Regions from separate parts of the Homo sapiens genome. Here all the other regions are linked to region 5. Evidence: promoter capture Hi-C in 16 types of primary human blood cells and fetal thymus (Javierre and others, 2016). All regions are on one chromosome and are shown on one strand. The core of a region is centred on a gene start or on the middle of the fragment in contact, and the rest is flanking DNA. Distances in the headings are between cores, read along the strand shown.

What was found. Contacts are between HindIII fragments. The CHiCAGO score rates a contact against its expected background, and 5 or more counts as called.
Region 1: the fragment with the promoter of SLC2A4 here is called in contact with the fragment with the promoter of BCL6B in region 5 in 6 of 17 cell types (monocytes, M0 macrophages, naive B cells and 3 more); the score reaches 8.3 in monocytes.
Region 2: a contact is called between the fragment with the promoter of ZBTB4 here and the fragment with the promoter of BCL6B in region 5, in 8 of 17 cell types (naive B cells, M0 macrophages, monocytes and 5 more). The highest score is 9.3, in naive B cells.
Region 3: a contact is called between the fragment with the promoter of CHRNB1 here and the fragment with the promoter of BCL6B in region 5, in 2 of 17 cell types (monocytes and M1 macrophages). The highest score is 5.8, in monocytes.
Region 4: a fragment that was not itself captured here is called in contact with the fragment with the promoter of BCL6B in region 5 in 1 of 17 cell types (neutrophils); the score reaches 9.3 in neutrophils.
Region 6: a contact is called between the fragment with the promoter of TMEM95 here and the fragment with the promoter of BCL6B in region 5, in 1 of 17 cell types (monocytes). The highest score is 6.2, in monocytes.
Region 7: a contact is called between a fragment that was not itself captured here and the fragment with the promoter of BCL6B in region 5, in 1 of 17 cell types (neutrophils). The highest score is 5.5, in neutrophils.

Annotation. Positions count from the first base shown.
Region 1 is chr17:7,280,468-7,283,506 of GRCh38, forward strand. SLC2A4 (solute carrier family 2 member 4) reads left to right here and starts at 1,251. Exons shown (of 11, transcript NM_001042.3): 1 at 1,251-1,500; 2 at 2,778-2,894; 3 at 3,006-3,039. The coding sequence starts at 1,468. RefSeq lists a silencer at 1,215-1,364 and an enhancer at 1,497-2,484. The HindIII fragment of the contact is 20,977 bases long and covers 1-3,039 here.
Region 2 is chr17:7,477,819-7,481,059 of GRCh38, forward strand. It overlaps ZBTB4 (zinc finger and BTB domain containing 4), which reads right to left and starts at 1,813. Exons shown (of 4, transcript NM_001128833.2): 1 at 1,638-1,813. RefSeq lists silencers at 1,120-1,169, 1,430-1,889, 1,910-2,169. The HindIII fragment of the contact is 9,560 bases long and covers 23-3,241 here.
Region 3 is chr17:7,443,509-7,446,502 of GRCh38, forward strand. It overlaps CHRNB1 (cholinergic receptor nicotinic beta 1 subunit), which reads left to right and starts at 1,553. Exons shown (of 11, transcript NM_000747.3): 1 at 1,553-1,677; 2 at 1,762-1,901; 3 at 2,561-2,605. The coding sequence starts at 1,620. FGF11 (fibroblast growth factor 11) reads left to right here. Exons shown (of 5, transcript NM_004112.4): 5 at 1-1,429. RefSeq lists a silencer at 1,625-1,674. The HindIII fragment of the contact is 9,289 bases long and covers 639-2,994 here.
Region 4 is chr17:6,600,699-6,603,713 of GRCh38, forward strand. All of the region lies in intron 12 of KIAA0753, which reads right to left. It also overlaps the pseudogene RNA5SP435. Among named protein-coding and RNA genes, the nearest start is that of KIAA0753, 39 kb to the right of the region's middle. The HindIII fragment of the contact is 7,378 bases long and covers 1-3,015 here.
Region 5 is chr17:7,021,413-7,024,362 of GRCh38, forward strand. BCL6B (BCL6B transcription repressor) reads left to right here and starts at 1,638. Exons shown (of 9, transcript NM_181844.4): 1 at 1,638-1,687; 2 at 2,248-2,438; 3 at 2,671-2,892. The coding sequence starts at 2,260. RefSeq lists a silencer at 592-731. The HindIII fragment of the contact is 4,378 bases long and covers 1-2,950 here.
Region 6 is chr17:7,353,882-7,357,091 of GRCh38, forward strand. It overlaps TMEM95 (transmembrane protein 95), which reads left to right and starts at 1,275. Exons shown (of 7, transcript NM_001320436.2): 1 at 1,275-1,492; 2 at 1,705-1,761; 3 at 1,957-2,037; 4 at 2,148-2,168; 5 at 2,315-2,395; 6 at 2,511-2,598; 7 at 2,718-3,210. The coding sequence starts at 1,324. The coding sequence ends at 2,751. KCTD11 (potassium channel tetramerization domain containing 11) reads left to right here. Exons shown (of 1, transcript NM_001363642.1): 1 at 1-1,063. RefSeq lists enhancers at 816-1,342, 1,343-1,869. The HindIII fragment of the contact is 23,288 bases long and covers 1-3,210 here.
Region 7 is chr17:6,631,701-6,634,642 of GRCh38, forward strand. The region is part of intron 2 of KIAA0753; the gene reads right to left. Among named protein-coding and RNA genes, the nearest start is that of KIAA0753, 7.5 kb to the right of the region's middle. The HindIII fragment of the contact is 6,054 bases long and covers 1-2,942 here.

The DNA.
Region 1 (3,039 bases), core at 1-2,500, 260 kb after region 5:
AGGAGGAATCGAGCCTGACTTCTACCATAGGGGTGACTGGGCGGGTAATTCATTGAAATAAGGAAGTTAGGAGGAGGAGCAGGTTTGGACATGCTGATCACTAGAGCTGCCACATCCGGGCGGTAACGAACACCTGGATCTGCAGCTCCAGAGAAGGGCCTGGGTCAGATGTCACTGAAGCCCTATGGTGGCGGAAAGGCGAGAAATAGTGGGTTGAGATTCCAAGTGCAATCCACTGCGGCTCCTCGCTCGCCCTCCAGGTGGCAGCACAACCCTGCGCTTCCGAAGCCCGTTTTCTGAGCCAGACACTCTCCACGCTCTGGGTATTTCGGCTTCTCTCTCCCCACACGCCGACCCTAGGTCGCGCACTTTCTGCCTGGCAGAATTTGGCCGAGGATCCAAACCCGGAGCAGCCTCCAGAGAGCGTGTCGTTCACGCGGCCAGCATATGCTCAGAGACCTCAGAGGCTCAGAGACCTCAGGGCTGGTGGTGTGGTCGGTTGTGACCACTTGTCCCTCGGACCGGCTCCAGGAACCAACCTGGGGAATGTGTGTAGGGGAAGGGCGGGATAGACAGTGCCCGGAGCAGGGAGGCGCTGAAAGACAGGACCAAGCAGCCCGGCCACCAGACCCGTTGTGGGAACGGAATTTCCTGGCCCCCAGGGCCACACTCGCGTGGGAAGCATGTCGCGGACTCTTTAAGGCGTCATCTCCCTGTCTCTCCGCCCCCGCCTGGGACAGGCCGGGACGCCCGGGACCTGACATTTGGAGGCTCCCAACGTGGGAGCTAAAAATAGCAGCCCCGGGTTACTTTGGGGCATTGCTCCTCTCCCAACCCGCGCGCCGGCTCGCGAGCCGTCTCAGGCCGCTGGAGTTTCCCCGGGGCAAGTACACCTGGCCCGTCCTCTCCTCTCAGACCCCACTGTCCAGACCCGCAGAGTTTAAGATGCTTCTGCAGCCCGGGATCCTAGCTGGTGGGCGGAGTCCTAACACGTGGGTGGGCGGGGCCTTTTGTTCCAGGGACTCTTTTCTCAAAACTTCCCAGTCGGAGGCTGGCGGGAACCCGAGAGGCGTGTCTCGCCAGCCACGCGGAGGGGCGTGGCCTCATTGGCCCGCCCCACCAACTCCAGCCAAACTCTAAACCCCAGGCGGAGGGGGCGTGGCCTTCTGGGGTGTGCGGGCTCCTGGCCAATGGGTGCTGTGAAGGGCGTGGCCCGCGGGGGCAGGAGCGAGGTGGCGGGGGCTTCTCGCGTCTTTTCCCCCAGCCCCGCTCCACCAGATCCGCGGGAGCCCCACTGCTCTCCGGGTCCTTGGCTTGTGGCTGTGGGTCCCATCGGGCCCGCCCTCGCACGTCACTCCGGGACCCCCGCGGCCTCCGCAGGTTCTGCGCTCCAGGCCGGAGTCAGAGACTCCAGGATCGGTTCTTTCATCTTCGCCGCCCCTGCGCGTCCAGCTCTTCTAAGACGAGATGCCGTCGGGCTTCCAACAGATAGGCTCCGAAGTAGGATTCATCATGAGGGGGCGGGGCGGGGGGGCACGGGTCCCGCTTTTCTTGGGCTGGGGTCGCGGTTGGGGTCAGCTGGGGGTGGTTCCTGCGCAGGCGCAGGGGGTGAAGGTAGGGGGCTGGCTATTTATACCCGGCCTGGACAACCCGTGACTGTGAGATTCCAATCCTACCAAAAGGCAGAGTGGGTCTGGAGGGCCTTTCGGGGCACAGGCAGCAAGTGGATTCTGCGAGCCAGGGTTCACCCCCTTGCCTAGTAGGCGGCGCGGCGCTCCGGAATCGGGGACACCCTGCCCTCGATCCGACTCGGGAAAGCAGATCCAGGCGGGTCTTGCCCTCCGGGAGCTGTCCGTCCGTCTTCGCTCACGGGCAGTGTTTCGAGGACCGGAGGCTCTCCGTGGGCCCCCACCCCCACTCCTGGCCGCCCTCCAGGACGCTGAACTTTCCCTTGGCCCCATGGTTGGTGGAGGGGCAGAGGGGACTGTCAGCCCCCCCTCCTCCAGCTCAGGTTTCCGCTTGGAGACAGTCTGTGCCGCCAGCGAGCGGCCACCACTGCCACCGCCCCTCACACTACCTTCCTGCCCTCCTCCCCTGGGCATGGCTCTCCCAGGCAGAACCCCTGGACGGCCCTCCCTGCACGGAGGTTAGAGGGGGAGGGCAGGCCACGACGTAGATAGAGAAGGCCACCCCTAGATGACCGGGATGTCCTTTCTGGAACAGCACTTCTTGGTCCTGTTGGGGGCCTCCTGGAGCTGGCTGACAGAACCCCCAGAGGGGAGGGAAGAGGACAGTGGCTGATGATAATAATGCACGTGTTAATTTATGAAACCAGCACTGTCAAGGATATTGTTAACATGTGATGTTGATTTTCACAACACTCTCACAGATAGGTAGGCAAGGCAGGCAACATCACCCCCATCTCACAGAGGACACTCAGGTTCGGGGCAGGGAAGTGACTTGGCCAAGGTCACACAAATCTGAGCTCTTAAGGCCAAGCCTGTCTCAAGGTCACAGAAGAATTTTGAGACAAGTTCTCAAACATTTCTCTGCCTTATGGACCCAAACATCCAGTTTCTCCTTTATGCCCAGGTTGCAGTTCAGCTCCTGTTTACATTGAGATCTTTGTGCAATTCCTAATATGGCCCAGTTTCCCTCACCCAACATGTTGGGTGGAGCCCAGTATCTTCAGGCTCCAGCTGGGCCCGGGCCCCTAGCGGAAGGAAAAAAATCATGGTTCCATGTGACATGCTGTGTCTTTGTGTCTGCCTGTTCAGGATGGGGAACCCCCTCAGCAGCGAGTGACTGGGACCCTGGTCCTTGCTGTGTTCTCTGCGGTGCTTGGCTCCCTGCAGTTTGGGTACAACATTGGGGTCATCAATGCCCCTCAGAAGGTGAGGGCCTGCAGCTGGCAGGGTGGGGGTACCCAAACGAGGAGGACAGGTGTCTCGGGGGTGGTGGAAAGGGGACGGTCTGCAGGAAATCTGTCCTCTGCTGTCCCCCAGGTGATTGAACAGAGCTACAATGAGACGTGGCTGG
Region 2 (3,241 bases), core at 563-3,062, 460 kb after region 5:
GGCCAAGGAGCCTCTCTGTCTAAGCTTACTTCCCTTGTGGCCGCCCAGCCTCTCCTCCGGGTGACCCTGACACGCTGGGCAGGCTCATGAGGGGCAAACATACAGACCCTGCAAAGATTAGCTGGGCCATCTGACAACACCCATGCCTCCCGCCGGCCTCCATGCGCTACCCTGCATTTATCTCCCGCCTTCCTCATACCAAATCCCCTCCGCAGCCCCACCGCCACTTAAGCACACAGACGGCAGGCACGCACACACAGCCTGCTTGCGGCTGGCCTCTTGGGTCTGAGGCCCACACTGCCCTTGTCACGCCACCTCCCTCCCCACATGTGTTTTCTGACCAGTTTGCCTCCCAGCTCAGCAGCCCAGACAGGCTCCTACAAACAACGTCACAAAAGAATCCTGTGGAGAATGTTGCAAACACACAACCTTCCCCTCGCTTGGCTGCCCATGATCCCATAAACACAACTGGCGCATTCCACCTCGAGCCCCTCACACCAGTGCCAACTGACCCACAGGCCCCTGAGACATACCCCGGGGTTCCTCGCTCCTCTCATGATCTTTGGGATCTGAGTTCTAGACGCGCAGCCCCCATGCAACGCGCTCATCACAGACACGCAAACCCATCCATCGCCCTCTTCACCACTGGACCACACCTCAGCAGGGCCACAGAAATGGGACCCAGACGTGACGCCTTCTGACTCAAAGGCCCACAACCGCCCCCTCCAAAAGGGCACATACACTGCATCCTGGCACCCTCCGCAACACATACAGCATGCCAGCTCTGCAGAAAACAGTTCATAAACAGGTCATAGGTGCAGCACAAGACACACATGCGAGAAAACACATGCTGTAGAAAACATACAGCCCCACATCGAACAAACTCTGCACCCAGCATGCTGTGCCCTGCTCAGAATACCCATCTGTCACCCAAAGCCACAGGGCTCGTCTTGTAACTCTGCCCCACAACACTGGACACCCTTCCTGGCTTTCTATCTCCATGGCCCAGGGAGGGCCCTACCCAGACCCCTGGCTGCCAGCAAACGGTGGTGCCCAGGAGAGGTTTACCTTGCCCCACCACACAGCACAAGACACACGATCTCCAAGACTCACAGCCACAACCCTGCCCCGACGGCGCGGCGGTTCCGGGGCCCCAGCTCGCCCTGCGCACCCCGCACACCCCAACTCTGGGGCGCTCGGCGGCCCACCCCTCCCCCTCTCTGCCTGGCTCCTACGCCATCACCCTCCCAGCAGCTTGCAGCGCTTGCCCGGGCTCACACCCGCCCCACCCCACCCCCAATCTGCCCCACGGGGGGAGGGGGCCATTAGGCTGCAGAATTAACCCTTCAAAGAGGGAGTGAGCACCTCCCCTTCCACGGCCCCAGGCGATCGCGTCCCACGGCCGCCCCTCGCTCGGACGCCATACCAGGGCCCCCTTAGTCGCCCCCCAGCGTCGTGCGCGCCCGGGGGCGGGGCCAGGCTCAGCCCCCGACCCCTGCGCCCCCAGGTCAACCCCAAAGGAGAGCGGTCTGGGCGCGGGGCGCGGTCGGGGCTCCCGCAGCGCCGGGCAGCGGAGAGGGGGCCTGGCAGTTGGCTCCGGTCCGCCCTGGCCCTGCCCAGTTCGCCCCAGGGCCCACCTGACTGCGATGGCGCCGCGTCCGCCAGGCCCGGCTCATCACCGTGGCCGCCCCCGGCCGCTCCGGTTTTGCCCGCCTCCAGCTCCGGCTCCGGCTCCAGCTCCGGCCCTGGCCCCCCCAGCGCCTGGCCCCGGCCCGGCCCCGCTGCCGCCGCCGCCGCCGCCGCTGACATCATCGGCTCCCCCCGCCCCGGTCCTACCCCCACCCCCACCCCCGGAAACAGTCCCCCCCCAGCGCCGCCGCCGCCGCCGCCGAGAGGAGGCCGGCGCAGCGCAGCCGACACCGACACAAAGCTCCGAGCGCCCGACGGCCTTCCCCAGGACTGACCCCCGCGGCATGACACTGCGCCGCGCTGGGCCACCGGGCGGGTGGACACCGAGCGGGGCGCGGGCCGGGCTGCAGCATCCCGGCAGGGGCGCAAGACCACCGACCCCCAGGGAAAGGGCTCCCTCCGCCCTTCCTCCTGCACGCCCTTCACTCAGCGGTGCACACTGCCTGAAAGCATAACACACAGGCTCTCAGGGTGCAGACATGACATGGCAGACTCATAATCAGGCCCGGTGGGACTCACAGACCCAGGGTCGGCACACTCAAAGAGGGCCAGCCCTGGACACACACACACACCCTCTCCAGGAATGCGCAGGAAAGCTCAGCAGGCCGCGGAAAAAGAAGGCCCTGGCCCTGCATACGGGGCACACACGAACGACCACCAGCGCAAATGAACACATGAAGCTGGCTGGGTACTTTGTCCCCACCAGCAGATAGATCCACATCTGTATACTTGAACATAAATGCAGAGGCCTTGGTGTCGGCCTCTGGGGACAGCATCAACAAAACACCAGGTGGAAGCACACACAGAAAAAACACATTCCTGAAACTCCACAGGGACAATCCCAAGAACTCCTCCCTGGTGCTGGAAAATTAAAAACTAAGGAGATGGAGGAGCCAGGGTTCACAGCTCCTTGCCTTAAAACCTCTCTGAGGCTGGGCGCGGTGGCTCACGCCTGTAATCCCAGCACTTTGGGAGGCCGAGGTGGGCGGATCACGAGGTCAGGAGATCGAGACCATCCTGGCTAACACGGTGAAACCCTGTCTCTACTAAAAATACAAAAAAATTAGCCGGGCGTGGTGGCGGGCGCCTGTGGTCCCAGCTACTCGGGAGGCTGAGGCAGGAGAATGGCGTGAACCTGGGAGGCGGAGCTTGCAGTGAGCCGAGATCTCGCCACTGCACTCCAGCCTGGGCGACAGAGACAGACTCCGTCTCAAAAAAAAAACAACAACAAAAAAACCTCTCTGAAACCATGCAAGATATAAATAAACAAATTAATGTAAAGCCACAGAGCTAGCCATAAAAAGAATAAAAGAATCAGACAAACTTTGGAGTCATGGAGACATAAATAGAAAAGAAGCAGAGTTGGGCTGGGCACGGTGGCTCATGCCTGTAATTCCACCACTTTGGGAGGCGGGGGGTGGTGGGGTGGATCACTTGAGGTAAGGAGTTCAAGACCAGCATGGCCAACATGGAGAAACCCCATCTCTACGAAAAATAAAAAATTAGCGGGGTGTGGTGGCACATGCCTGTAATCCCAGGTACTTGGGAGGAT
Region 3 (2,994 bases), core at 303-2,802, 420 kb after region 5:
AGTCCTGTGCCCCTTTTCATTGCCACTGAGCCATTTCTAGATTCACTGGAGCTCAGGATTCATGTGTCCTTCTTTCCCTACTCTACCTTCTACCTTGGTCTGGACACATTCTGGAACACTGGACACCCTCGCCAGGGCCACTTCTGCACTAGGGCTCTGTGCTGGAACCCAGGCATGCTGCCAGCCTTTTCTCTGGATCTGTCAGGCCTCTGTCATTGACTCAGATGGACCCCTGGTTTCCAAGTAGAAAGAGGCTAGATTTGGGCCTTGTCTAGCTGTTGGCTTTGGCCTGAACCGGAACCAGTCTCAGATGACCACGGGTTTAACCTTCTTATCCCAGAGACACCCAATTCTAGAGCTTTATGGAGCCGTACTTCCCCCTGAATCCTAGCTCTAGGACATAGATCATGACTCTCAGCCCTTTTACCCAGGATGGAGCTGGGGCCTGTATAGCCATATTATTGTTCTAAGTAAGTTCTAGCCCCACCCTCCCGCCTTCTTGAGTGATACCTATTACGGATGAGTTCTGGAAAAGACCCAGCTATGATTCATAAAAACACTTCTGGATGAATCAAGAACCATTTCTTGTTTTTCCTAGATAATTCTCTAAAAATATGATTCTTCCATATAGAATGCTAAGCTTATTTTTACATGCAGTTTCTAGCTCCTTCAACCCAGCTGAGGTCGTGCCAGGGAGACAGAGTCTGGAGAAGGGCAGAGGAATTTTGGAAGGATCCCTGGCTCATAGTAGGGAAGCTGGGATGGGGGAGGGGTCAAAATTATGGCATGACTGAACCTGCATCTGTGTTGGGTGGACATGAATACTTAGCTACCTCAGCAGGAATTCCTTCCAGGTCCCCTTTAAAGCTGAGGTCCTTAGAGTAATATGTCCTTAATAAAAAGGACAAATGGATACAGCCTTGACCCTCCCAGTGAGGAGACCCCAATTCAGCAATAAGTCTCACCCTTCTCCCCTACAGGTCAGGCCAAGAAGGGTGAAGGCCTCTTGCACTCCAGACCTCATACGCCCCAACAGCTTCTAATTGGATAGAACTTGCTTTACCTTACAGCTCACAACCTCAGCTGGGTTTTAGGTACCCAAAAAGGGCCTGTCTAGATTTTTTCAGAAAAACGTGGAGTGCTAGGGGCAGCCTGGAAAAGATGGGGAACCTGCTAGTGAACTAGGAGGGAGACTTCCATAGCCTCAGACTTGGATAGGGTAGGCTGAGGGGGCCCTAAGGGAGGGACTAAGGCTCCAAGGCAGGTCACTTTTCCTTAGGCTGTTCTACTTCTGGCTTGTTGCAAGAGGAGTAGATGCCCCCTCACCCACACAAACCCCACTCAGTCTCCACCCAACTCCTGGCACTGCTCCCAGGGGATCGGGTCTCCACTCCAGCTTTCTCAATTAAAGACGATTTATACAACTGAAGTGCTGTCTGTCATCTGTCGGTGGCGGGCTTGGCAGTTGCTCGAGGCAGGATCAAGTCCCGGGGGCGGGGCGGGTGGGCTGGCGGCTGTCCTCCAGCAACAGGTGCACATTCCCGGGCTCCTCGTCACTTCCCCTGTGCTGGCGGTCCCAGCGGCTCTCTGAGCGAAGTCACTGAGCGAGCCGCCAGGCTATGACCCCAGGGGCTCTGCTGATGCTGCTGGGGGCGCTGGGGGCGCCGCTCGCCCCAGGTAAGTGTAGGCCCCGAAGGGGCAGTGACGGGGCCAGCGGTCGTGGCCAGGCACCAGGGCTGCACTTATTCTCTCCTCCCCCAGGCGTCCGCGGCTCGGAGGCGGAGGGTCGACTCCGGGAGAAACTTTTCTCTGGCTATGATAGCTCCGTGCGGCCAGCGCGGGAGGTGGGAGACCGTGTCAGGGTCAGCGTTGGTCTCATCCTGGCGCAACTCATCAGCCTGGTGAGGGCGCGCGGGGGGTGGAGGTCAGGCCAGCCGACCGGCCGGGGGCGTGGCTTTAGGCAAGGCCGGACCAGGGACAGGCTGGGGGCGGGGCCTGGGACGAGACCAGGCTGAGATGGACCAGCCTTTGGTGAAGATTGGATCGAAATCAGACCAATGGACAAGCTCTGGCCGTGGGTGGTGGACGGGCCTGGAGTAGAACTGGGTAGGGTGAAGGACGGACCTGTGATCGGACCTTAAAGTGGGGCTGGGGACGAGGCAGGGGCTGGGGGACGGACCTCGACGTAGGGCCACATGAGTCCTGAGTGCCCAGGGTGGGGCGGAGCTTGGTGCTCAGGGGTCAATAAATGGCAGCGGGTGGAGGTTCGGGGCTGGGTGGATTATGAGCTGAAGGCAGGGCCGGGGACAGAGCTAGGCGGAGGGCTAGGCAGGGGCGGGTCTGGTAGGTTGATAGGCTGGGAGTGTAGACGGCAGGAAGAGGTGTTTCTGAGATAGAGGCAGGTCTTAAACTAACGCCGCTTCTGGGAGGTGGACTTGGACCCGAGAGGATGGGGCTCAGAAAAAGGGGGCGGCGTTCCCAGGAGAGAGGTTGGCCCCCCGAGCCCCCTCATTTCTCTCCACCCTACTTCACCTTTACGCCTTAAATTTTTCCCTTCTAGAACGAGAAGGATGAAGAGATGAGCACAAAGGTGTACTTAGACCTGGTATGGAGACCCCACGGGGTGGGAAAGGGCTTCCCTCTGCCTTGACAATTTCCTTGAATATCCAGCCCAGTAAGAATATTTTTTACATCATGACTTTAGATAACACGTTTATAACTGAAGCAAAAGCTCGAAGAAACAACACTTAACTTTACTACAGGAGTTACACCCCATGCATTTTTAATTCCAATTTTGTGTGTGTGTGTGTGTGTGTGTCTGTGTGTGTGTGTGTGTGTGTGTGTGTGTGTGTGTGTGTGTGTGTGATGCGGTCTCACTATGTTGCACAGGCTGTTCTTGAATGCGGGGGCTCGAGCCATCCACCAGCCTCGGGGGGAACCTCCACAAGTGCTGAGATTACAGCCGTGAGCCACTGCACCTGGCCCATTCTAATT
Region 4 (3,015 bases), core at 288-2,787, 420 kb before region 5:
GGCCTTACTTTATGCACAGGGATTTAGGTAACATCTGAAGTGTGTAACGCACTGAGTACACTTCAAAAAAAATAACGGTTGTCATTAACAGCTAAAGAGGGTAATCAACTAAACAAAAGAAACTAATTTTGTTCCCTCTCCAAATCCCACTAAAACAACCATAGAGTTAGCTTTACACCCACAAGGATAAGGAAGAAAAAAATGGTGCTGGAAAACAAAGGACAAAAGTGATAACTAACTTAGCTGATCTGAGAAAGCTGACTTCTCCCATCCAAGTACTAACCAGGCCCAACCCTGCTTAGCTTCGGAGATCAGACGAGATCGGGCACATTCAGGGTGGTATGGCCGTAGACAGGAAGTTGACTTCTAGGGCCAGCAGTGGGAAAAACTAGAACCCACACAATTTGTACTGCTGACTTAGGCACATGACTGGTAGTACCAGGTACATCTAGGCCTGGGCTAAGCTGGGAGGGGGTGGTTTAAAAACTGACGACAACAGCCAAATGATGTTTGAGAAATTAAGACTCCTAGATCCCTTTCCCTACTTCACACAACTATACAGCCGCCTCTTTCCAACTCTAGGAGAAGTCTGATGGCTCATTCTCTGTGTGAGGGTCTCTTGACTAGGGGCACCCAATCACAGTTGAGGCTGTAGGTACCATACTGAAAAGAGGCAGCGGTCACGTATGCAGGCTAAATGCTATGTTATTAGACTCACAGCCCTCTTCCCCAACTCAGCTCCTAGGAAGCAACATCCTGATCTTACTCTCTGGGCCAAAGATCAGAAAACTTCTCTGGGCAGTCTGACCCAGGCCAAAGGAAAGACCTAAAGACCAACATAAGTGTCCTTAACAAACAGTCCAGGTGTTACTTTCATCAGATGGTGTTGGAATAGCCAGATATCCATTAAAGAAAATGAATTTCGACCAGTATTTCATCTCATACACAAAAATTAATTCTAAATGGATAACAGACACAAGAATAAATGGTAAAACTATAAAATACTTAAAGGAAAACATAAGAGAAAATCCTTGAGACACTAACATAGGCAATGATTTCTTAGCTAGTTCACCAAAAATGACTAACCAGAAAAGAAAAATTGATAAACTGGTCTTAATCAGAATTTAACACTTTTAGTCATCAAAAGACACCATTACAAAGATCTATGGGCGAGCCATAGTATTGCGAGAAAATATCTGCTGCACACATATCTGGCAAGGGGCTCATATCCAGAAAATACAAAGAACTCAAATCAACACTTAAAAAAAATTCTAATAGGCAAAAGACTTGAACACACACTTCATAATCAGCACTAGAAAAGGTGCCCAACATCATTCGCCTTCAAGGAAACACAAATTAATACCACAAAGAGATACCACCACATTCTCACCAGAATCACTAAAAGACTGACAAGCTCAATTGTTAGCAAGGATGTGAAACCAATAGAAACGAACTCACATGCACTGCTGATGGGAGTATAAAAAGCTACTACTCTGGATAATGCATATGGCTCATTTAATAAAATCAAACAACTGCCTATCCTATTACCCAGAAATTATACTCCTAGGCATTTACCCAAGAGAAATGAAAGCATATTTCTACAAAAAGCCTTGTGCAAGAATGTATGTAACAGCTTGATTCATACTAACTATAAATGGGAAAGCCCAAATGTCAATTCACAAGAGAATGAACAAACAGAATGTGGTATATTCCCACAGTGGAATACTACTCTGCACTAAAATGGATGAACTATGCTGATACACACACAATGTGGATGAATCGTAAACATTTTCTTGAGCAAAAGAAGCCAGACACAATGGGGTAGATCTTGATGATTCTATTCATATAAAGTCTGAACAGGCAAAGCTACTTACAGTAAAAGAAATCAAAGCAACTGCCTCCGTGAGGGATGGGGGTGTGGAGTAGAGAACGACCAAAAAAGACATGTGGGTACTTTCTAGGTTGAAGGACAAATTATCTATCTTGATTAGCGTTTTGGTTACCCAGGGATATGCATTTGTCAAAATTCATTGAACTGTACCTTTAAGTTCTTTGCATTTTACTATATGTAAATTATACCACGATAGAAACAATTATTTAGAAAACTAAAATACTAATTCCAACCCACATACTCTGAGTTTTTGATCGGCAATCACTCCCCCTACGTTTAAACATGAGAAGATAGCCAAGATTACTAGGTATCTGAGGAAGGAAAAAAAAGATTATGTAGGTCAAAAGGCAGAGGAAATGTGTTAATATATTCAGAAAGAAAACAGCACTGAATCCATGAAAGAAGGACAGGCGACCACTAAGTAAGAGATATTTGGAGAATATAATAGAGCTCTCAACATTTTTAAATTTTAAAATTTAAACACTGGCAGAAATGACAAACTCAATAGGTTAAATGTTAAAGTTGGAGGAAATCTCCTACTGGGGGAGGGTAGGGGTAGAGGTAGAAGAGGGAAAAAAGAAAATAGGAAAAAACAGATAAGAAAATCAGAGGACCAATCAAGGAAGTCCAACATCAAAGAACAGGAGTTTCAGAAACAGAGAATAGAGAAAACAGAGACAAGAAAAAAAAAGTACAAAATAAAGCACGAAAACTTCTCAGAATTAAAGGAAATAAATTGCCAGGCTTAAAAGGTCTACTGATGAATGAAAACACACCCACAATAAGTCCTATCATTATGAATCTGAGATACCCTGGGGAGAAAGCAGAGTCTGTGAGCCTCTAGAGAAGGATAAAAAGCAATTCTGATTTCTCATTGGAAACAAGCCAATGAGCAGAAATGCTCAGATTTTTGCTTCTGAAGAGGCTGAAAAATGTACTTTCCACTCTTCTTCCTGTTAATTACAACTAAGAATCCTGGACATTAAATATATGCAAACATAAGAGGACTCGGAGAGAAGTAGAGAAGGCACATCACCTAGGGACACTGGGACCAAAAGAATGACAGAGCAGTGAGTTCTTTGGGATTTCTCTTTGCCTTATATTTCCCAGAGTAGGTACTGGAG
Region 5 (2,950 bases), core at 388-2,887:
TCCCAGTTCCCGGTTTCTCAGCTGTTCTTTCATGCATTCAAATAAAGACACACTCCGGTCTGAAGGGGAGGGCCCCGGGCCTGATATCCAGCCCCGTGGACCATGGTCGGCCATTCCTGGCCAACTGTACACTCTCCCCAGCCCAAATCCGGGGAGCTTCTGCCTTGCAGCTGGATTCAGCTCTAGCACCCCTTCTCCAAATGAGCTTTGCCTTGCCTGCCCGCAATGTCTCCCGAAACAAAATATGAGGGTGTGATCCATGCCCATCTCTCAGATCAGGGACTTCAAATTAGGGTGGTTAAGCCCCCTCCTGCCCTCTCTCCCTCCTCCTTGTTTTCCCTTCTCGTTTACCCCACCCAATTTTAATGTTCAATTAAAAGTCACCTCCAAAGACATCTGGGTAGCAGTGTCTAGCTTAATTCGAAAAGAAAACCCGGAGTTCCCAGGCTCAGGTCCCGCTTCTTGTCCCACCCATTCCCCTGGCTCCTAAAGCCCGCGATTTCTCACCTCGGGTAGGAACCCCAGCCTGAGGGGAAAGTCCCCTCGGTCTCCTAACTCTAGCTCCCTCCGCCCAGCCCTAGTCCCCTCCTAGGAGACAGAGGTGCAAAATAAACCCGCGCAAAGGGGAGGAGGCTAAAGGTTTCAGCCGCCCAGACCAAATGGATCCTGCGCCCGGGTCTGAGCGCACCCCAGGCCGGGTGGAGACGAGGGGCGAGGCGAGGCCAGTGCTCGGCCGCCCCCTCGTGGAAGGAGCCGCACATTGCCGAGCCTTGCCTACTTGCCGCGCTGGACCCCGGCGTCCCGCCAGCCTCCAAGCGTAGCCGACGGGCGGGTGCCCGAGGCCCTCGTGAGCTGGGATTGGGGGAAAGCAAGCGGGCTTTGGGCGGGAGTCCATCTCTCTGGATCCCTACAAGGACCCAGAAGAGAGTCGGGAGCGAGAGAGGCCGGACGCCTAGGTCTCCCGAGCGTCTCTCGCCCCTCCACCCCCACCTCGGGGCTTTCCCCACCTCCTCGAGGGGAAGCAGCTGGCGGAGCCGTCCGGTCGCAGGACAATGGAAGGAAACCAACTAGAAATCATATCCGCCCTCTCCGTACCCCGCCCGGCCAGAGCCCCCCTTTTTGTAGGCCCGGGTAGAGTAGCCTGTCATTCACACCACACCCTCCCCGTCTGAGACCCTACGGGAGCCCACTGTCGTCTGCCCAAACCTGCTGTCTCGTTGGGCTCCCCCTTTTCTCCCTTAACACAGTACAAGAGAGGGAGAGGGGGTTGCCGTATGCACTTTGTCCTGCAGCAAAGGTTGGCTCCTGGCAAACCCTCCCAAAAGCCAACACACCAATTTTCACTGGCCCAGGCCTTCCGACGACTCAGACTCCCGTATTGCCAACCTCGATATCCCTAACCTCCTCCCCAATTCCAATATCCCCGTCCTCGTGTCCACTTGCAGTGACCCAAGACCCCCTACGTTACGACCACCCCTTGTTTCTGAGGTCCCGCCCTCGAGACGGAGACCCCGCCCTGGACTCGCCATCTGGAGAGCGAGGGAGGAAGGAAGGATACAGACCCAGGCGTTCACCCCACCTCCACCCCCGCCCCCGACATCCCGGCCAGATAAAGGAGCCGAGGCCAAGAGGGGAGAGAGACCCCGCCCCCCTTAAGAAGAGAAGCCGCGGCCCCTGCAGGACGGGGGTAAGAACAAGAGACTGAGGGAGCCAGACTCCTGGGTCCCCCAAGAGGGTAGGAGCTTGTGTGGAGCTTGCCATCAGCGAGCCTGAGTCCCAGAAATTGGGCTAAACTAGGGATTGGGGACTAGATAGGAGTCGCAGAATTCCGTAGTTCGGGGAAGGGAGCCTCGGCTGGGATTTGGAGGTGTGTGGACGGCAGGCCGTGAGATCTCGAGGCAGGGTTGGACACCTGAGACACAGGCGCGCAGAGGGGAGTGGCGGTGCTGGAGGGGCACTGGGGGTCGAACCCAGGGCGATGGGCGCGGGATTCCCCACGCTCGCCAACGACGCCGCGGTGTGGAACCTTCAACTGGCTCCAAGCGCTGTGGGATCTGGAAGAGGCAAGGGAGCGAGGGTGTCGTAGAGGGCAGAATGAACAAGAAGAATTAGGAGGGAGGCTGCGTGTGCCGGGGCTAGGGGCTGGAAGTCCTGGCTCTAGTTGCACCTCGGAAGGAAAAGGCAAACAGAGGAGGGAAGGCGTCTTAGGACTGCCTGGATCCAGAGCACTTTCCACGGCCTCTACAGGCCTGTGTCGCTATGGGTTCCCCCGCCGCCCCGGAGGGAGCGCTGGGCTACGTCCGCGAGTTCACTCGCCACTCCTCCGACGTGCTGGGCAACCTCAACGAGCTGCGCCTGCGCGGGATCCTCACTGACGTCACGCTGCTGGTTGGCGGGCAACCCCTCAGAGCACACAAGGCAGTTCTCATCGCCTGCAGGTTCGAGGGGTGGGGCCTGGGGCGGGGCCAAATGGGAAAGGGGTGGGACCACAGGGCCGTTGAGAGGGAATCCGAAGCCAAGTCTTTCAGAAGCAGGAGGCGGAGCGTCCCAGAATTGGGGGCGGGGTGATAGTGAGGAGGCGGGACTTTTTCAGGGGGCGGGGCTTCCTGAAGCTGCGCATGTCTCCCTTGGTTCCCCAGCCCCCAAAGGACTTATCTGCTCTCTCTCTAGTGGCTTCTTCTATTCAATTTTCCGGGGCCGTGCGGGAGTCGGGGTGGACGTGCTCTCTCTGCCCGGGGGTCCCGAAGCGAGAGGCTTCGCCCCTCTATTGGACTTCATGTACACTTCGCGCCTGCGCCTCTCTCCAGCCACTGCACCAGCAGTCCTAGCGGCCGCCACCTATTTGCAGATGGAGCACGTGGTCCAGGCATGCCACCGCTTCATCCAGGCCAGGTGAGGGACCCTGGCTCGGCGTTCTCTGTGGGTGAGGTGTTAAGGGCAAAGGCAGAGT
Region 6 (3,210 bases), core at 25-2,524, 330 kb after region 5:
GCCTAAGGCTGAGCACCTCCAGTCTCTCCTTGATTTGGAGCTCAGTGTTTAAGGGCTTGGAAAAGGGGGGAACATCTCTTTACCCAGACTAGACCTAGCAAAACCCTGGAAGGATATTGAGGTCTGGGGAAAAGGGAGGACTTTGCATTTTCCCAATGCGGTCTCTTGGACCATGGCTTCTACTCCTGAAGCTGGGTGGCCTGGCCTGGCCTGACCAATGAGAGGCCAGAACACTCTGGAACATCGGAAGAGGAGTTCTTTGCTATGTTCCAAGCCATCTACTGAGGGAGGCAGAAAGGCCACAACCCACCCTAGGTTGATGTATGGGAGCTAGGACAGTCCCCATGGCAATGGGGCTGGAGCATCCCTCATCTGGAAGAATCCCATACTGATGGCAGGGCTGGCCAGGGGGAAGAGGGTAGTATCTGTGGGTCCTGGCCTTTCTTCATGTGTGCGTGCATATCAGCCCGTGTGGCTGACTGATGTATAGGTCCCTGGCATCCTGGTTCATATCTGTGTTGCTGACTACAGTGTCTGTGATGTCCGCATGTCCAGGCCTGTTTGGGGTTGCCTAGCGACTCTTCTGGCACAGGGTGTGTCTGTGGTATACCTGTGAGGTGGTTGACAATTAGTAGTTTAATCACAGGGTGTGTGTGTGTGTGTGTGTGTGTGTGTTTATGTGCACGCATGTATATGCATCACCACGTAGCCAGGAGGGGCCTGTTGGGGTTTGAGTCACTGGGATCTTCCTGGTGAGAGGTAAGAGAAGTCACTGGGCTTAGCTGGGCCTCTGAGGCCTGTATGGAACTCTTGGTTGCTGAGGCAACCATGGACCTGTTGCTAGGAGATAGCTGGGGAAGGCCCAAGGCCGCCCAGGGCAGAGAGAGGAGACGAAGAGTTTGGGACAGTGGGGGAGGAGATGGGAAGGGATGGGATTTCTGGGTCCCAGAGCGGGTGGGATACTCACGCACAGCTTCTTCACTGGTGGGGGGTGGGGCACACATTATTTCTCACTGGTCATGATTTACAAGAAGAAAAATAAAACTGCTTTTGGAACCACAAACTTGTGAAGGCTGTTGAGGGCCAGGTTGGGGGTGCTGTCCCCTCACAACAGAAGCCCTGCTTTCTCTGCCCATCGCCTGCTGGAGATGCCTTCTGGACCCCAGTTCCTTGAGCCCCAGCTTTACCCCAGCTGAGGATGGGCAGTGCCATTGTTCATTGTTCTGGAACATTCTAGAACCTCCAGGCAAGGGCTGGAGCCAGGGCTGCAGAGCATTCCTCGGCTCAGCTGGGGCAGCGCCGCCCCATCCCCCAGTGGTCCTCATGTGGAGGCTGGCACTAGGCGGGGTTTTCCTGGCAGCCGCCCAGGCTTGTGTCTTCTGTCGCCTCCCAGCCCACGACTTGTCAGGCCGCCTGGCTCGGCTCTGCAGCCAGATGGAGGCCAGGCAGAAGGAATGTGGGGCCTCCCCAGACTTCTCGGCCTTTGCCTTAGGTAGGACCAGACATCCAGGGATGGGCCCAGCAAGCACTCACCCCCCTACCCCCAGAGGGTGGCATGTGACCTTCCAGCTGTGCCCTCCATCTGTGGCCCTTTCTGGACATGCTGGCCTTTCCCTCTGAGAGAGCTCCATATCTGGGAAAGTCAGGAGAGACCCCAGAACCTGGGCTGATGAGGGAATCGCTGGTCCTTGCCCATCTCCACAGATGAGGTGTCCATGAACAAAGTCACAGAGAAGACTCACAGAGTCCTGAGGGTCATGGGTGAGGTCAAGGGGAAAGAGTGACCTAGGGGCTTGGGAGGATACCAAGGAGAGGGACGGGTGACAGGGGTTGGGGTGGGCAGGGAAGGGTGGAGGGGTAGAGACAGGAGGGCTGATCAGGGAGGGGCTGCGTGAAGAGAGGGGGAACTGGCCCCGTCGAGGCCCAGGGAAACGGAGCTGCTGTCTGCCTCCCCAGAAATCAAAGAGGCTGTCTCCTCACTCCCTTCATATTGGAGTTGGCTTCGAAAGACCAAGCTCCCTGAGTACACCAGGGAAGGTACCGATGCGGGATGGGCCTCAAGGGGAGCCTAGGGTCTTAACCAAAGGAATGTGTGGTGAGCAGCTCATCCATTCACACCCCCACCCCTTCCTTGTCTTTCATTTCAGCTCTCTGTCCCCCCGCCTGCCGTGAGTAGGAAAGGAAAGGGGTAGCAAGGACCTGGGGCCTGCAGGGTGTCAGAGGAGGGCCTGGCAGCTGCAGGAGGAAGCTGGGTACCAGGCAGGGTGGAGGCCCGGCCTCCCCTCCCCAGCGTTGCCTCTGCTGTCTCCTGCAGGGGGCAGCACCACGCTGTACAACTGCTCCACCTGCAAGGGGACGGAGGTGTCCTGCTGGCCCCGAAAGCGCTGCTTCCCAGGTCCTCACGCCCATCTTGGCCCCGCCCCACCTTGCCCAGATCCCTGAGCCCTTGGGCTCCCAAGTCGGTGCGTGTGGGTCCCAGAATCATTCACTGCCTCCTGGGTTCCCTGCAGGAAGTCAGGATCTTTGGGAAGCCAAGATTCTGCTCCTCTCCATCTTCGGAGCTTTCCTGCTTCTGGGTGTTCTGAGCCTCCTGGTGGAGTGAGTTTTGGGATAAAGACAGGAATCCTACCCCGCCCAGTGCCTTCCACCACCCATCCTCCCTCCCTCTGTCCCTCCCAGGCCCCTCCCGTAGGCTTCCCACCCTCGTCTTCCCTCAGGTCCCACCACCTCCAAGCAAAAAGTGGCTTGTGAAGACGCTGAAAACCTCCCAGCCTCCAGCTCTAAGGGGTATGCACTCACAACTTCCACATCCCTTGGAGGGGAACCAGTCAGCCCCTTAGTCCCAGCTCCAAAGACAGTCTCCAGACCCTAAAACCCAGACATCCCTGCTTCTGGTTGGTGAGATAATGAAAAACAAGAAAATCCCCAAAAACCCAGATCCCCCACAATCCCAGTGTCAGATGGCCTCCCGGGAACCCAGGCACCCACAGCTGGAAAGTTCCTCCCCTCCAGCCCTCAACCAATCACATGGCTGTCAACAATGCCAGGAAAATATCTACAGAAGGAAAGAATCCCCTACGCCACTCCCACCACACCCACACCCCCTTCTGCCTGTTCCGGGAAAGCGGGGGCATCTGCCCCAGAAGCTATTCCAGGCCCTCCTATGACTGATGGGGAATCCGGGAATGCATGTTCTGGAAAACTCACCCC
Region 7 (2,942 bases), core at 169-2,668, 390 kb before region 5:
TCTATTTCCTAGTTCTGTCCTCTGAGAGGGCCTAAAACAATGACATGATAGTATCAAGGAGCACATCCAGCCCCAGATAGTGATTTTTTAAATTTCATTCTCCACTGAAGAATCAAAGTCTCCTTGGATAAATGGTTAATTCCAGGGCCAGGACAAAGAAAAGACAAGTTGAGCCTGGAGTATCTTTTATTTATTTATTTATTTATTTATGAGACGGAGTCACCCAGGCTGGAGTGCAGTGGCACAATCTTGGCTCACTGCAACCTCCGCCTCCTGGGTTCAAGTGATTCTACTGCCTCGGCCTCCCAAGTAGCTGAGATTATAGGTGTGCACCATCATGCTCAGCTAATTTTTTTGTATTTTTTAGCAGAGATGGGGTTTTAGCAACATGGGGTTTCACCATGTTGGCCAGGCTGGTCTTGAACTCCTGACCTCAAGTGATCCTCCTGCCTTGGCCTCCCAAAGTGCTGGGATTACAGGCATGAGCCACAACGCCCAGCCTTGGAGTGTCTTTTTACACCATAAAGTGGTCAAAGACTGATGAGATCATGTCAAAGAGACACTGGGGCCAACTAGAAGTGGCTCTCACTGGCTAAATCAAAGACCATTTGAACATCAAAATAAATATCTGCACATCAAAATAAATAATGAGAATAAAAATAATAATGAGTCTGTGCTGAAATAAATAAGTAAGTACTAGGAAAAGAAGGGGTTTCCTGGAGCAGTGGGAAAGAGCCAGATTGCAAGGAGTAAGGCAACAAGTAAATGTAGAAGGAAGGGTAAAATTAGAAATCCCCATTTGCCAACCACCATAATAAAAAACTGATTCAGGCAAAAATGCTAAAAGTAGTTGGTGAAAGTTTGAGGTGTTAAAAAGACATTAACATAGTCTCCAAGACAAATAATTACAAAAAGCAAAGGAGTAACTTTACAATGAAAAAACCAGGCAGATACCACCTTAATCAAATGGTGAAAGTCAACACTGCTAGTGCTGGGACTAAATTGGCAGCATGTACTTGCTGATAGGGTGTCCTGAGAAGCACTCAGTATCATTCAGTGGTTCTCCTGCCAAAAGTGCATTACCTGAATGTAACTGTGAGAAGACATCAGGCAAATCTAAATTGAGAGAAAATCCACAAATAACTGGCCTATATTCTTAAAAAAAATCAATGTCACAAAACCTAAAAACAGACTCAGAAATCAGATTAAAGGAGACTACAGAGGCATGACAATGTAATGCACCTTATGATCTTGGATTTTCTTTTGCTATAAAGGACACTATTGGGACAACTAACAAAATCTCAGTAAGGTCTGCAGATTACATGATGGTATCGATTTAATGTTAATTTCTGATTCTGATCATTGTACTATGGTTATATAATAGAATTCTTTATTTTCAGGAAAAAAATACTTAGAGGTAAAAGGGCACTGTGTCTGCAATTTACTCTTAAATGGTTTAGAAAATAATTTGTGTGTGTATAGAGATAGTGAGAGAGAGAAGGAGGGAATACGTAGCAAAATGTTAGCATTTGAGGAATCTGGGAGAAGAGTATCCAGGAATTCTGTGGACTATTCTTGCAACTTTTCTGTCAGTCTGAAATTATGTCAAAAAATTTTTTTAAATTTCTTTGTACACCACGATAAGATATTATTAAACACCCACCAGAATGGCTAAAGAGACAACAACAAGTGTTGGCAAAGATGTGGAGCAACTGGAGCTCTCATACATTGTCAGCAGGAATGTAAAACGGTACCACCACTATGTAAAAAGGTCCAATGGTTTGTTATAAAACTAAATATACACCTACCCCATGACTCAGCAATTTCACTGTTGGATATTTACCCAAAAGAAATGAAAACATGTTCATAAAAAGATCTGTATAAGAATGTTCATAGCAGCTTTATTTATAATAATCCCAAATTGGAAGCAGCCCAGGTGTCCATTAATTGGAGAACGGATAAACAAACTGTGGTATACTCATAGTATGGAATGAGAAAAAAGGATTAAAAAGGAATAAACTACTGATACATGCAATGACAAGGATGGATCTCAAAAACTTTACAGCTAGTGAAATGTCTTAACACCAAAAAAATATAAAATCCCATTTATATAAGGTTCTAGATCAGGGAAAACTAATCTGTGGTGGAAAAAATAAGAATAGTGGCTGCCTCTGGAGGGGAGGAGTGGGGGTTATCTAGCAAGGGGCATCAAGAGAACTTTCTAGGATAACAGAAATGATCTGTATCTTGATAGAGGTATGGGTTACACATATGTATGCATTTGTCAAAACTCAGCAAATGTGAAAAGATGTACACATTGCAATGTGTACATCTTTCACCATTTCTGACGTAAAATGTATATTGAAAGAAAAAAATCAGTAAACAGGGTGAATTCTTTTTTTTTTTTTTTTTTCTTTTTTGAGATGGAGTCTCGCTCTGTCACCCAGGGTGGAGTGCAGTGGCACAATCTCTGCTCACTGCAACCTCTGCCTCCCAGGTTCAAGCGATTCTCCTGCCCCAGCCTCCGAAGTAGCTGGGATTATAGGTGTGCACCACCACGCCCAGCTAATTTTTGTATTTTTAGTAGAGATGGGGGTTTCACTATGTTAGTCAGGCTGGTCTCGAACTCCTGACCTCTGGTGATCCGCCCGCCTGGACCTCCCAAAGTGCTGGGATTACAGGCGTGAGCCACCGCATCTGGCCCTAAACAGAGTGAATTCTAATGTACAACATGCATATGGAAGTAGTTTGGATACTCATGCCTGCAATTGACTTTGAAATGTGTCAAAAAATAAGATGGATTGATGGATGGATCTCTAGAGGGATGACTGAGTGACAGACATGCAACGAAACAAGTAAGTGAAATATAATGGAATCTAGGTGAGGTGTTCATTGTAAAATTCAACTTTGCTGTATTTTTAAAGATTTTCATAATATAATGC